2 separate regions of the Homo sapiens genome follow, and region 1 is linked to region 2. Evidence: promoter capture Hi-C in 16 types of primary human blood cells and fetal thymus (Javierre and others, 2016). All regions are on one chromosome and are shown on one strand. The core of a region is centred on a gene start or on the middle of the fragment in contact, and the rest is flanking DNA. Distances in the headings are between cores, read along the strand shown.

What was found. Contacts are between HindIII fragments. The CHiCAGO score rates a contact against its expected background, and 5 or more counts as called.
Region 1: a contact is called between a fragment that was not itself captured here and the fragment with the promoter of ACTR3 in region 2, in 2 of 17 cell types (fetal thymus and total CD4 T cells). The highest score is 10.8, in fetal thymus.

What each region holds. Positions count from the first base shown.
Region 1 is chr2:152,710,746-152,717,804 of GRCh38, reverse strand. PRPF40A (pre-mRNA processing factor 40A) reads left to right here and starts at 344. Exons shown (of 26, transcript NM_001365597.4): 1 at 344-575; 2 at 1,679-1,810. The coding sequence starts at 366. It also overlaps a transcript of ARL6IP6 not described here. RefSeq lists an enhancer at 345-644. The HindIII fragment of the contact is 196 bases long and covers 1,385-1,580 here.
Region 2 is chr2:113,885,732-113,892,930 of GRCh38, reverse strand. It overlaps ACTR3 (actin related protein 3), which reads right to left and starts at 2,842. Exons shown (of 12, transcript NM_005721.5): 1 at 2,608-2,842. The coding sequence starts at 2,651. It overlaps ACTR3-AS1 (ACTR3 antisense RNA 1), which reads left to right and starts at 1,939. Exons shown (of 5, transcript NR_110174.1): 1 at 1,939-2,038. LOC124906071 (a long non-coding RNA gene) reads left to right here and starts at 3,164. Exons shown (of 3, transcript XR_007087205.1): 1 at 3,164-4,868. RefSeq lists enhancers at 1,902-2,081, 2,132-2,181, 2,264-2,919, 2,952-3,041, 3,162-3,471 and 2 more and silencers at 2,312-2,571, 2,812-2,871. The HindIII fragment of the contact is 5,488 bases long and covers 1-4,522 here.

The DNA.
Region 1 (7,059 bases), core at 233-2,732, about 39 Mb before region 2:
GGGGAGGGTGAAGGTGGCAGACCCCCACTGCCCCACCCCCTACGGGGTGAGGCGGTCTAAGCTCGGGAAGCTGGGACACTGTTGTCTTCCCTTCCCCTGGGGAAGTTGGTAGAGTTTTCCCGACGGAGGACTCGGCGCAGAAACTTCCTCCGTCCTCCTCCTCCCCCCCCCCCATGCAGGCGACGCCGAGTGAGGCTGAGGCTGGGGGCGAATCGCCGCAGAGCTGCGTGTCGGCGGCGCATTCTGATTGGACAGCGGGGAAGCCCGTCAGCCTGTTGGCCCCGCTGATCCCGCCCCGTAGCGCAGGGCAGCCTTTAACCTTTAGCCCCAGTGGGCGCCAGCCACTCAGATCGCTTCTTGTTGGTATGTGTAGCGGCAGTGGCCGCCGGCGGAGCAGTCTGAGCCCGACGATGAGGCCGGGGACGGGAGCTGAGCGTGGAGGCCTCATGGTGAGTGAAATGGAGAGCCATCCTCCCTCGCAGGGTCCTGGGGACGGGGAGCGGAGATTGTCCGGCTCAAGCCTCTGCTCCGGCTCTTGGGTCTCTGCTGACGGCTTCCTGAGGAGACGGCCCTCGGTAAGGGATCAGTGGGGCAGGGGGAAGGCGGCACAATGAAAAACGGAGTGAGAAACAGGAAGCTTTCTCCGAAAGGAGAAGAAGATAAGAGTGGACGAAGGAAGAACTCGAGATGGTGGGATATGTTCTGAGGGAGAGAAGTGGAGGGTGGAAATGCACAAAGAGAAGGATGTGAGACCCTGGAAGTTCCCCGTGGGCTTGGCCTAGACAGATGCGTGGTGAAGGTGCTGGCTCTTGGGCGGGGTGAGCGTCTTGGAGCTTTAGGCCCGATTTTAGCTGGGAGGGGGAGGCAGGGGCTTGATACTGTAAGACTTTAACAGCGGCTGCCAAAATTTGTTTTCATTAGTCGTCGGGGTGGTCTGCAGGGGGAACTGTTGGGACAATTGGCAGGAGATAATTAGGTGGTTTTAATTTAAAACATAGAACAATGGACTCATCGGTAAAGAAAGTAGTTGTCTTTTTAAACTGCGTTAAAAAGGATGAATTAGTTGTTTGCATTTAGTGTCCGTGAGTGACAGAACCTCAGTCTTTGAAAATGTATTTTTGGCAGAAGGAATTTTACCTGTCTTAAAGGTTATGTTAGGAAATAAGTTTGTTAGGAGTGAATTGTGCCTGGGTAGCCATACTGTTTGTGTTTTGTAAGACCGACTCTCACCTGAGTTAATTGGATAGAGCATTTTAAAGTTTAAAATCAGTAGTGTTATAAAATAACAATAGCTGGCTATCTTTTATATCTGCATGAAATAGGAGAGTTGTTGTTTTCACCATAACAGTTTTAAAATTAGTATTCAATGTGTATCCTCCAAGCTTAGCAAGCCAATTAGTAGCTGGTTAAGTCAGTGCTTAAAAAAAAGAGAGAGAAAACCTATGATCCAGCGGTCCAGGATTCATCTTAACTTTTCCCATTTTTTTACGGAATTTGCAAGCTCGTTTTAAATACTAGCAGAATGCGTTTTGTTTGAAACAAGGTATAGACTAATCCAATGATGTTATTACACATAAGCTTAATATTATGTCGCTTCAGATAACTGATCTGTTGAAATGAGATTTTTGAGAAGCATTTAGTATTATTTGCTCATTTAAAAATGTTCACTGTTTTTCAGATGGGGCACCCTGGCATGCATTATGCCCCAATGGGAATGCACCCTATGGGTCAGAGAGCGAATATGCCTCCTGTACCTCATGGAATGATGCCGCAGATGATGCCCCCTATGGGAGGGCCACCAATGGGACAAGTAAGACTGTTTTTGTTTTATTTTGCATTTATTTATTTGTTTTTGCCTCAGGTATTCTATCAAGATTTCAGAATCTAGGTCAGTAGTTATAGCTGTTTAATGATTAGTTTATGCCCGAATAATTTCAAATAAGCCAAATGTTAAATCATGACTGTAACGGAAATTTGAATAATGGAAAAGTCTTCTGAGAAATTTAAATAATGAAAAAGTCTTCTGAGAAATTTACTGATGACCTCAAAACTAAGAATTTTTTTCTTTATTATTTAAAAGTAAAGTGTGGATCCAGGCTTTTATTTTTAATGATTATTTTTTCAAGAATGCCAATTGAAGTTGATGGTCTAAGTAAATATTATCTGATACAGCAACATAACTGATTTTGGTAGACCATGTAAATAAATAGAATCTGAAAATAGCTATTGTTTTGGTTTAGAGCGAATTTTATTCCTGAAATATCTTCCTCTTTGTGTGTTGGAGGAGGGTGAGGGAGGGTGGGGAGTTTGTGCTCTATAATTCTGATTCTTCATAGGACAGTGCCAATAGGTAGTTCATTTTCCACTTATACTATTTTTTTTTAATGCTTGTTGCTTCTACACTCCTGCTTATGAGCTGTCCCTTCCATCTCTAGCATAAATTGTAAATGGACATTTTGTAGGAGTGATTTGGATCAAAAGGTTTTAATGCTGATTCAGTGATTTCGGTAGAACTGAGTTTCTAGAGAAGCATCCAAGAAAGGTAACAGGTTCAGTTACCATGAGTAATTTTGTGCTTCATGTTAAGTTCTATAATAGATCTTTAGGTGGCTGGGTTATTTCCATTTGAGTATTTCCATAAATCATCAAAAATTTAGGCTAACAAAATATTTTGGAAGCCAATTTCATGTGATCTTTTGCTAATTAGTACTGTTTGATAATTGTTTAAGCTTTCATGGTTAAAGTTATTGGTGAAATTGCAGTGGGAAAAGGAGCTTGCTATGTGTCTGTCTCTTTTTACTTAACCTTAAGAGTAGAAGGGCTTAATGTCCAGTGATTTTCCTCTTTTTTTTTTTAATTTGGAATATTGCCCTTAATTTTGTTAAAAAACAAAACAAAACCTTTATTCAAAGGCACCAGCCCCAAAAGATTCTGCTTGCAGGAGTTCTTTAAATAAAAGAGCCTTTTATTCTGTTACTCTAGAATAACACAAATTTTAAAACTCTCTAGGTGATGGAGAAACAACTTTGATTCCTCTTCTGTTTCTTTCCATCTCTAAGGAGCAAGGAGCTCTTCTTGTTTTCTTGGTAGAGCTGCTCTAACTAGATAATGAGCTTTAAAAATATTTATTCTTTAAATGCTCTGGTTCTTATTTAAAATTAGTTTCTTTCCACAGAAAGATAAAATAAAACAATTTGCTACTGCCAGATGCTTCTCTCTTTTCTGGGGCCTTCTGTTTCCATTGGGCCAATCAAGGTAAGTTTTGCAAGGGATTGACCTGCTTACCCTTGCTGTAATGGTGCTATTGCACTACCAAAACCAAGATACCAGCTAGTCATAGTTCTAGTTAAAAAAAAAAATGCAGATTTTATTTTTTAAAAGTACTTTCATGTATCTCATTGACATAAGCTGGTCACAGTTTGCTTTATGGCCCTTTCTCTTTAGCTGTATCAGTGACCATCTTTCTAGTAAGTTTACTTGCTACTCGGTACACATCCATTCAAATAACTGATTTTTTTGGTGTGGTTTTCTTCTACTTTTTCCTAGGCTAATATATGCCACGTGCCTTTAAGTAGACCTAATTATTTAGATGTTTAGAATTCTTCTCCCTCTGAAGGCTCCTGTTAGTATAATAAATAAATGTTTTAGTAGGAGTTATGCCCTGAAAGTCCCAAAAGAATCTCCGCTGTTTTTGTCAGAATTATATAATTCCCTTTTATCCCCTTAATATTTCACTAACAAATATGGGTCCCAAATCTTGGTAAAACAAATTCTTGTTTTAGCTTTATAACAGACTGGGAGAGCATGGATAATTTGAATTCTCAAATCAGAAATCATATTTGAAACTCTGTAAACATTGCTTTAAAAATTAAAGGTGATAATAAATAGGACAATTGATCCTTTTTCCTGCATTATTTCTTCTGCCACTCTTGGAAGTACTCAGGAGGAATAAGTGGTCAGAAGATAATTGAGAAGAAGCAGGATGTCTGTCTGTATCATTCACAGTAGTGACAGTTGGGAGGGTTCTGCCATGCAATTTAAAAAAGTCAGTTCACAAATTCTTTAGACTTTGGGACTGAAGGTTATAAAAACCTTCATGTGTTGACTGGTTTGCATGAACATCTCATGCTGGGACTAGCTAAAGACTAAAATTGGTGGCAGTCTTACTTGCCAAATAATTGTGGTCTTTGGAATGTTACCAATATGACATGAAACTGTAAAACTTGTTTGTAAAATAATATGCAGACTGGGTAGCATAATGATGTACGGAAGCCAGGGTTCATAATTTCTCAAATGCATCAAGCTATTTAGCTTAAAGAAGTGGTGTGTTCAAATTTTTTTTTTCTTAATTCATGAGATGACCTAGAGTGCCATCTCATGCATTTAGGCTGACTCTTAGTAGTAATAAATATTTGATGATTATCAAATTGAGCTTAATATTCTTTCAGGTTTATTTCAGTTTTCTATCTTGTAGATTAAATTTGCCTCTTATTCTATATAACTTTATAGGAAAGTCATACTTTTAGAGTTATAGGATCTTATAGCTGAAAGGGACCTTACAGGTTGTTTAAGCTTTAAATAATATGTGATTTAAGATGCTTTGAGGATCACTGGTTAAATGTTAGTAAAGAAAGATAAAGAATTTTCCCTGCTGGATGGCAGTACTCAAAAATTTCCCATTGGGAGGCTGAGGCGGGTGCATCGCTTGAGCTCAGGAGTTGGAGACCAGCCTGGGCAACATGGTGAAACCCCATCTCTACAAAAACTATTTAAAAATAAGCTGGGTGTGGTGGTGTGCGTCTGTCGTCCCAGCTACTTAGGGGGCTGAGGCAGAAGGATTGCTTGAACCTGGGAGGTCGAGGCTGCAGTGAGTCAAGATCACGCCTTGCACTCCATCCTGGGTGACAAAGTGAGACCCTATCTCAAAAAAATAAAGATTTTCTGTAGAGATTTCTATCAATAAAATTATGTGTGAGGCTGTCTTCTTCCTCAGTGTCCATAGTAAATACTGTTTTCATGTCTTTTGTGTTTTCTACACAAAGGACATGCAGGTCCTGCCATCTTTATCACAGATGATTATGCCTTTGCCCCAGAGTCATGCTAGCTGGCTCTTTTTTTTTCCTCCCTATTTGAGTCTTTATTTTCCTCTATCAGTGAGAAGAGTAGAGTAATTGAGTTAAGGTCCCTTTCAGCTCTAACATCCTATGATTCAGTTCAGATCATTTGATAAGAGTAGATATCAGATTTTATGGGATGATATGGAAAGAACAGAAAATTCCTTTAGTAATGCCTCCCTAATTCTATTTATTCAGTGCTTTTTTTTTTTGGTCTTTGGTCAGTAAACTGATAAATGAATAATTGCTTTTTACAAATGAGTTTGATTTTCTTGCTCCTATATTGAGTAAGGCTGGCTCTAATAGATCTTATTTTATTTCAGTTCCTGCTACCACATGAGCCCAAGTCGTCACTCTCCCATGCCTAGGTTATTCAACAGTTTTTGAGTTGAGTTGGTTTTCTTGCTTCAAGGATGCCCCCCTGCCCCCACAAATTTTAGATTTCAATGTGTTATCTCCTTGCCCAAGAATCTCCAGTACTTTCAGTGCCTATAACATAGTATCTAAATTCCACAGCTTAACTTTAAAGAACCTCCCCATAGTACATGTCAAAGCAGGATTCAAGGCTGCATGTCTTTACACTCCCTAATTTGAACTTAGGCTGGTCTTTTCACGGTGTCTTGAGTGATTATATTAGTTCACAACTTCAAACTTAGGCTGTTCTTCTTACCCTCCTGCCCCCAGCTCAGTATCACCATGAAGTTTGCTTTGCTTACCTATGTTGTACTATTTCAAGTCCTGCCTTCTCCAAAAGTTTCTCAAAAATGACTTTTGCCAACATATACCTCCCCTTCAGATTATTAAAGAAAATATTTGTAATCTACCCATAACTCTTACCGTTTCACTTATTTTGGCACCTAGTTATTGACTTGTTTTATGGTTTCTTAATTTGCTTTAATTTTCCAACAAGTAATAGATTGTAAGCTCTTAGAGGGCAGGGGCTATGTTCTGTACTTTTTAAGAAGCCTATAGGTGCTGAGCACAGTTCTTGGCACATCATGGGTGCTCAGTAAAATACTTGTTGAATGAATGAAACAAATACACAGGTATTCTTTCCTGCAGTATAAGCCCATAAGTCAGTCAGTGTTAAATGTGACTGTTTCCAGTGGTTACTTGTGACTTTACGTTGTTACTACTTATTCTTGTTTTTAGTGTCTGCCTCTTTACTCTTACTTTTTCATTTGACAAAAATGGAAGATAAATAAGATGAAATAAATAATTTTTGTTTGGAGAATAAAACTAAAATATTTCCATTTGCAGTCGACCCTCTGTATCCAGAGATTCAAGCAACTGCGATGGAAAATAGTCTTTAAAAAAGCAACAACAAAAAAATACAAATTTTTAAAAATAAAGTATAATAACTTTTATAGCATTTACATTGTGTAAGGTATTATAAGTAATGTAGAGGTAATGTAGAGGAAAAAATAACAAAGTAGGATATAGGCCTTGCAGAGAAATTTAGTGTATTGGTACCTTAGACTTACCTGACTGATTTGACAAATTTATTTGTTGCTGTTCCTTCTGAATTACCCTTCCTTTTGAGTAGCTACAGGATCCATGCCATTGAATTGGGCATTAGCCAGTGACAAAAAAGAGATAGAATTTTTGTTTTTTAGGTCATCTGCTCATAATTCTTGAATCTGGGTAACTTCTGGGTACATGTGGATGACTCAAGCAAGTACTTTTAAAAAATATCTTAACTCAGACCTAATGTCTGTAAATTCTTGACTCAATGTGGTTAGATTTTTGACAAATGTTAATAGTGAGACTACAAATACGTTTATTTTCATTATCTTTAGATAGCAGTTCATTTAAATATGAGCTCATCTATTCACAAACTTAGTGTGGAAAGATCTAAGGAGGACCACATCAGTTGAGAAGAATGACCGGCATCCCCTGCTCCCCTTTTGAAATTCACAAGGCATAATATTTACTAAAGTGATGA
Region 2 (7,199 bases), core at 1,593-4,092:
TGGACGATCCCTAAAAGTTTTGGGCTTAAGTTTCAAGTTTCCTAACTCTTAACAGCTTTCCTATCTAAGACGATCAAGTTTTACAGATGGCCACTTTTTTTCAGCCACCTTTCCCCTAATTTATATAATGAATGAAATGAGCAACCTGATTCAGGTTATAACTTTTTACTTAAACTAAGTGAGTAATTGTAATTTAGAGACCTCAGAGCTGAATGCATTCTCTAAAGCATAAAAAAAATTAGACAAATTACAGGTGCACAATTTGCATTCGGGGACCACAGAATTTTGAAATGTAAAAGCTCCCTGTTAAGGCCATACTTAGAGATGTTTATCTCAGGGTCCTCAACCTCAAGGACTTATCCTCCATGTGCAAATAAAGCTGAAGGTGTAACTTCCCAGGAGGCACCACTGGAAACTTGTAAGACCAAAAAGGCTTTTGAGAACCAAAATAACTGAAACTCTAAAGGGGGAATTTCAGATTGTGACAAATGGTAAAAGAGAGTGAGGTGGCAAGGGGACTCCTAATCAGTTCCATTCAAATCATCAATGTGCAGTTAATAACCTCTCCTTATTGGAGAAACCAATGTAATAACTTAAAAATACACTATTGTGATAATCGTAATTTTAAAACAGAAATAGCCTAGGTTAAATTGAACCCCTCTTCCCGATCCTACTGGTCATTCAGCATGTTTTAAATTCAAGGTTGCCCTTTAGGAAAGGAGGTCACTTAAGGACAGTTTATCTCAATGAAACATCTTGTATACTAATTCGAAACTATTTCAAAAGGGGGAAAATGGAGATTAGAAAAGTAACATACTACTTGAGATGTTACCATATTATTTCTCAGGGCCACAATTATTTACACTATTTTTTTGAAAACGCAGTAATTTCTAAAGCATTAATTATGTAGCAATATTCGTCACTTTAACAAAACACATTTGAAAAGTCCTATCCTACTGACTCAGGCCAAATCTAATTTTAAAACTGAACCTAGACATAAAAATACTCACCAATTAGACTAAGAAGGGAGAAATAAAAAAAATTATTGGTTCAGAGAAATGAGACTGAATTAAGGAAAAACTTTTAAATAAAGTGTTCATCAAAAAAATACATAGAAGTTCCAAGGCTAGTGTTTTCCTAGGAGAATATTAAGAAGTTGGTGGTTTCTCTCTACCTAACTGGGATTTTAGAAACTGCCACACTAGCTAGTTATGAGAATGAAGATTAAAGAAATTTCACATAAAGAGTGAAGGACACACAATCTTTTAAGTAACAATAATGAAATCAATAATTATAATTAATAATAAAAAAAAAAGCCTGACAGTCCACCTCTTACTGACTTCCCCCTCAAAAAAAAAAAACTGGGAGTGTTCTGGGAATTGGAGAGATGTCATCAGCACAGAAAAAAAAACCACTTTCCTATATGTCATCCTGAAGCAGTGATTCTACATAAAAATAAGGGTAGTCTATTCTCTATGCAGTTATGAGTGTGGTACAACTCTCTAAAACGTCTATTAATACAAAATGAACGACCACACTTTAAAGCCACTCTACATTTTCGCAAACTACCCTACATATCTACGAGTAACTATTTGCAACTTAAACACCCTCCTATATACCTCTATACCTTCCTGCTTCCTTCAAGATACCATCACAGAATGAACGAATACAACTTAAATTAGTTTATTTTCCAGGGTGCTTCCTTTCCCCCACTCCATGAAACATAAGTACATTTTTTTAAGTCATATAAATGGACACCAAGCACCGGTAATTCAGTCTCTTTAAAACCTGCTTAAAAGTTCTAGTAAGATGTGCTCAGGTTGGAAACTAAAAACTACCTTATAAGGGTATAAAAGACTGAAAGCAGGAAGCGGCTTTGACAAAACTAAGGAAGTTGCAGCGCGCTTGCTCACTGGGGGACTTTTTTGAGGCTACAGAAGTAACACATGACATCTTTCTCCCTCGAATTAAAATGTGACTTGGTTCACCGGTTAAAACGCAGAGGGAGATGGAAATGACCAGGAGTCGAAAGGAGAAGGTGGGTGGTCAAATGAAAGCCCCACTGTAGGTTCCCATTTTCAGAGTCCGATTCTTCCCTTTCCCCACCCACACCCTGGGCAGAATGTTGTCACAGCGATCTTGTCAAACCTACCAGGAGCGCTTCTCTTTTCTAGCTCCCCTGCCAGGCCAGTCCCCGAGCTCGGCCCCTGGGTCCCCAAACCGACTGGCAAAAACGGGCGCGGAGGGAAAGGAAAGCCGGATGGGTCGGGCCCGGGGACCACCCCCAAGACGACCGTCCCCAGCGCCCTTTGGGCGGCGCTGCCCACCGTAGTGGGGGAAGGGCCGGGAGGGGTCGCGCGGAGAAAGCCGCTGGGAGGGTTGGGGGTTGAATCTCGGGCCCGCGCCCCCGCCCCAGTCCCAGGAGGGAGAAACGAGGGGACCCGCGAGGCCCTGGCTGCGGGCCCCACCCCTCGCTGGCCGGCGGGTCTAGGACTGACAGCCGGCGGCGGCACCTCGCCGCACCATTCATTTCCCGGCCTCCTCCCTCCCCCGCCATCTTCCTTCCTCCGCCTCAGTTTCCCCACCCCCGCCCGTAAGCCCCCTTACCCCGTGCCACAGTCCACCACACAGGCCGGCAGCCGTCCCGCCATCTTCCTCCTCGCCTGCTGCTGCTGCTGCCGCCGTCTGCTCCGTGCTGCTAGGGGCCAGAGATTGGCGGCGGGAGACAAGGGCTATCTGACCATCCACAGCTGGGCCGCCTTCACCGTCCGGGGGGTAGCCGGGAAGCCGAAGCAGTAGCAAGAAAGCAGCAGGCTCGGTCGGCGGCTATCACTTCCGCAACCCAGGCAGGCAGGCAGTCCCCGCCCTGCCCCGCCGCGGCCTCCTCCCCCTCTCTCTTCCCTCCTCCTCACTCCTGCCCCCACCCTACAACTTCTTCCCCTCACGCCGCCTTTCCCCGGGAAGCCAAGATGGCCGCCGGTGCCGACGCCCCGGCCAGGCCAGGCCCAGGCCCCCAGCGCTCCCCCTTCCGCTCCGAGCGGGAGGGGCTAGCGAGCATGCGCAATAAGGTACGTTCGCCTGCCTGGGCTCCGATCCTGAAGTTGGTGAAATCCACTGCGGGTTTTCCAGGAGTGTAGAGGCGGAGAAGTCTATCCGAGCTTCCAGTTCTGCTTCTGAAGCTGGAAGGGGCTTTTCGGTTGTAACCCTTGGGTTAGTTTCAGTTACTTCTTTGCTAGGTTGAGGAAAGGGTGGAAGCGCCTCCTGCAGCCACGAATATCCTCCAGTGCCTGAGAGAAAACGGCCTAATCGAAAACGTCCGCGGCATACATCCATTCTTAAAACTTGAGTGGCTGCTTTTCTGGGTGGAAAAGAGCGGTATCAGACAGGGTGAGCAGTCGGGGAACGGATGAACAAAGACTTGCACCGTGGCCCTGATGCCTTTGTTCCGAGTTCTATTCAGTTGTACTTGTGCGTTGTTACAGGACTTTAGAATGCAGCCCTGCCCCCCAACCCCCACCTCCCAGGGCCGACCTGTGCTCCTAGGAAGGCAAACCTCCCAGGAATATATTCTGCATAACTATACAAATAGGCCTTTATTCAAGGCTTTTGGATTATGACAAAGATTACCCTCAGGAGTAGTAAGATTCTACTAGCAGGATAATAGAAAGGATTAAGGCTCCCCTCCAAAGAAAATTTTTTTAAGTTAGAAACGGAGGCGAGCCGCAGTGGGTCATGCCTGTAATTTCAATGCTTTGGAAGGCCGAGGTGGGAGGATAGGATAGCTTGAGGCTAGGAGTTCGAGACCAGCCTGGGCAACATGGGGAGACCCCCCCCCATCCCTCCAAAAAAGAAAAGAAAACTGGAAAGCCTTAAAGAAACCTTTCAAACTTTAGTGTGTATCAGAATTACCTGAAAGGTTTGTTAAAACAGATTGCTGGGCCATACCCCCAGAATTCTCTGACTGGGCTATCGGAAATAATGCCTGAGAATGTGCATATCTAATAAGTTCCTAGTTCCACTTTAGGACCCTAGAAGGTTAGTATCTTTCCTCTCTACCAGGCTTATCTTAGGATGAACCGTTCGGGGTTTGCTGATGTGAAGCTAAAACAAAAATATTCTTTAAAAGGAGGGATGTCTTATTCAGTCCATAAGATCATCTAATGTATTAAGCTGGCTTGGGGGATGAATCGGGTGTTTCATTCATTCATTTGACAGGTAAGCATTGCTTACCTACTCTATTATGACGGGGTCTGTGCTGACTCCGAATATTCGGTGGGATGCAAAATAGTTAAGTGCTCTTGTAGAGTTTACAGATTAGCGGAAAACAGACAAATTGTGTTAAGAGCAATAGAAAGAAGAGAGCGGAGGACTCTGAGAAATGAAGGCGAGGAGTGGGAGAATGAGAGGAAGGTGGAAGGCAGGTAAGGAGTCTGACCAGCTGGTATTTAAAAGCTAAGATGGGGGGAAGAGTCTCCCAGGAGAGTGAACAGCAAGTGTCAAGGACCTGAGGCAGGAACAAGCTTGGCTTCTTCCACAAATTGAAAGAAGATCCATATGAAAGAGTCAGAGAAGATGCAATGGGAGATGAAGACTGAGAGATAAGGAAGAGTGAAACAGTGCAAGAATTTGTAGACTGCTCTAAGCATTTTAAAGTTTATCTTAAAAGCAGCTTGATAAATTAGATTTATGGTAATTAGTTTAAAAATAAAAATAAAGCAACTTGAAAGGATTTAGGCAAGAAAAAGTTGTGTCTGCTTTGTAGAGAATGGCTCCAGCAGAGTCCAGATTGAATCATACATTGTATGATATTCTGTGTTCCGGAGTTCGCAGATAGAAGTATGTGAGGGCCAGCATCCAAATGGAATCAGGTATGTGCAGAGGAGACTCACTAAAGGGCATCATCATCAATTAGTGCCCAGCATGTCTGCAGCTATTCACGAGAGAAGGCTTTTTTTAGAGGTTGTTTTCAGAGAAGTCAAACAACTGGTTGTCTCAGATTCGTTGTCGTTGGTTTCTCCACTACATTTTAGAAGATGCTAGATGGGGACTCTTTGCTGCCGCTTCTACTACCTGGTAATTAAAGTCTTTTGAGGAAGCATATGCTTGAAGATTGGCTCTGACAGAAAAGACAGATGTGGTTTAGTAGGGGTAGAATAAATGGTTGTTTCCAGCAGTTACAAGTAGTAAGTCAGGAGTGAAGAGATCCTACCAAAGAAGTTTCGAGAGCAGAGGTTAGTGCCCTCGGTCACTTGGGCAGCCCATGCCGGTGGCCCTCAAGGTAGCTGCCCACACTCTGGCCTTGCACAGTTGTCATGGAAGTAGTTAACTCAAGCAGGGTTGGAAACTAGTGCTTCGAGGTCTAGGCAGGTACTGTTATGAGTGAAGGGGGCCATGAGGAGGGTATGGCAATGTGAGAGCCCACAACCCAACAGAAGGCAACAGACAACTGTTGCCATGTGGAAATACAGCCCTGGTATTGCCAGAGCCTTTTTTCTTCCCCAAGAGAAATCTGAAATCTGCATTTTTATCTTTGGTAACTGTAATGGTTTGAATGTGTTCCCCAAAGTTCATGTGTGAGAAATATAATTTCCAGTGCAACAGTGCTGAGAGGTGGGAGCTTTAAGAGGTGATTAGGCCAGGAGGACACTGTCTTCATGAATGAATCACAGGACTGGGTGCCTGATAAAAAGGAGTTTGCCCCCGCTTCCCTCTCTCTCTTTTGCCCATGTGATGCCTTCCACCATGTTTTGACACAGCAGGGACGCCTTCACGAGATGATGGCCCTTTGATCTTGGACTTCCCAGCCTCTAAAACTATGAAAAATAATTTGTGTTCTCTATAAAGTACCCAGTCTCTGATATTCTGTAAGCAGCACAAACTAGGCTAAGATAGTAACTAATTTTTTTCTGCATGTCATATCTGACCTGTGGTCTGCCAGTTTGCATCTTTTGATTTCGGAAGCTACATGTGGTTCAGTAGTTTGCTGCCTTCAAATATGAAGCTCATGTCAGTGCTAAGTACTGTCTCTCATTTCATAGGCATGAGGAAACTGTCACAGTCTCACATAGTCAAGACTGTCCTGTGTTTGTACAGGCAGTAACTGTTAGAAGCATTTGGAAGCTTTCAGTGCTTGTTGGAAATGTCATTGGTGCTCATTCCTCATAATCTTGTCTACCCAAACACTTTGCTTGCTTAAGATCCCTTCTACTTCCTGCTTGCTGCATGCCAAATTGGTCAGCCTCTCTGCTACTGTGGTGGCCCAGCCTTCCTCAGCTGCACATAGCCTTCAGTCACACATCCGGCCAAAGCATTTCTGACCACCCTGTTTGCATATGCACCCACTCCCTGCTTACTCATCTCCAAACACAGAAGCAAAGGATGTCAGAGACAGTTCATCCTTCATTTCATATTTGTCCCTAATAGCACCTCAATTTCCTTTCAGTTCAGGTCAACCCGGTCCTTGGTTCTTACCCATTTCCAAACCTGTTCCGAAACTTTCAAGCATTTGTGAGTCTTGCAGTATCCTTCTCCTGTGGCTCAAGTTAGCCACAGCAAGTTCCCATTACTTGCATCAAATTTGAGAAGCCTTAGTGGTACAGAAGCCCATAGAGTTTAAGTGAGTTTTCCCAATATCTTTTTCTTTTTTTTTTTGAGATGGAATCTTGCTCTGTCGCCCAGGCTGGAGTGCAGTGTAGTGCGATCTCGGCTCACTGCAAGCTCTGCCTCCTGGGTTCATGCCATTCTCCTACCTCAGCCTCCTGAGTAGCTGGGACTACAGGCGCCCGCCACCATACCCGGCTAATTTTTTTTTTTTTTTTTTGTATTTTTTGTAGAGACGGGGTTTCACTGTGTTAGCCAGGATGGTCTCAATCTCCTGACCTCGTGATCTGCCCGCCTCGGCCTCCCAAAGTGCTGGGATTACAGGTGTGAGCCACCACTCCCGGCCCCCAATATGTTAAAGAAACTAAGGAACAGAAGTCCAAGTCAAAATCCAGTTCTTACGCCTTTTGGGGGGCTCTTTAATTGTAACGACAAATTAGCAAATTGTCTTTGGATCTTAAAAAGTGTCCAGGAAATTTATGTCACTCAATTTCCATTATTTTAAGATGAGAAATAGTATTTTAAAAATCAACTTAGGTACGTACTACAGGGCTGACTGTTTGCAAATTGGCAGATGAATCAGATTCACAGAGAGCCTT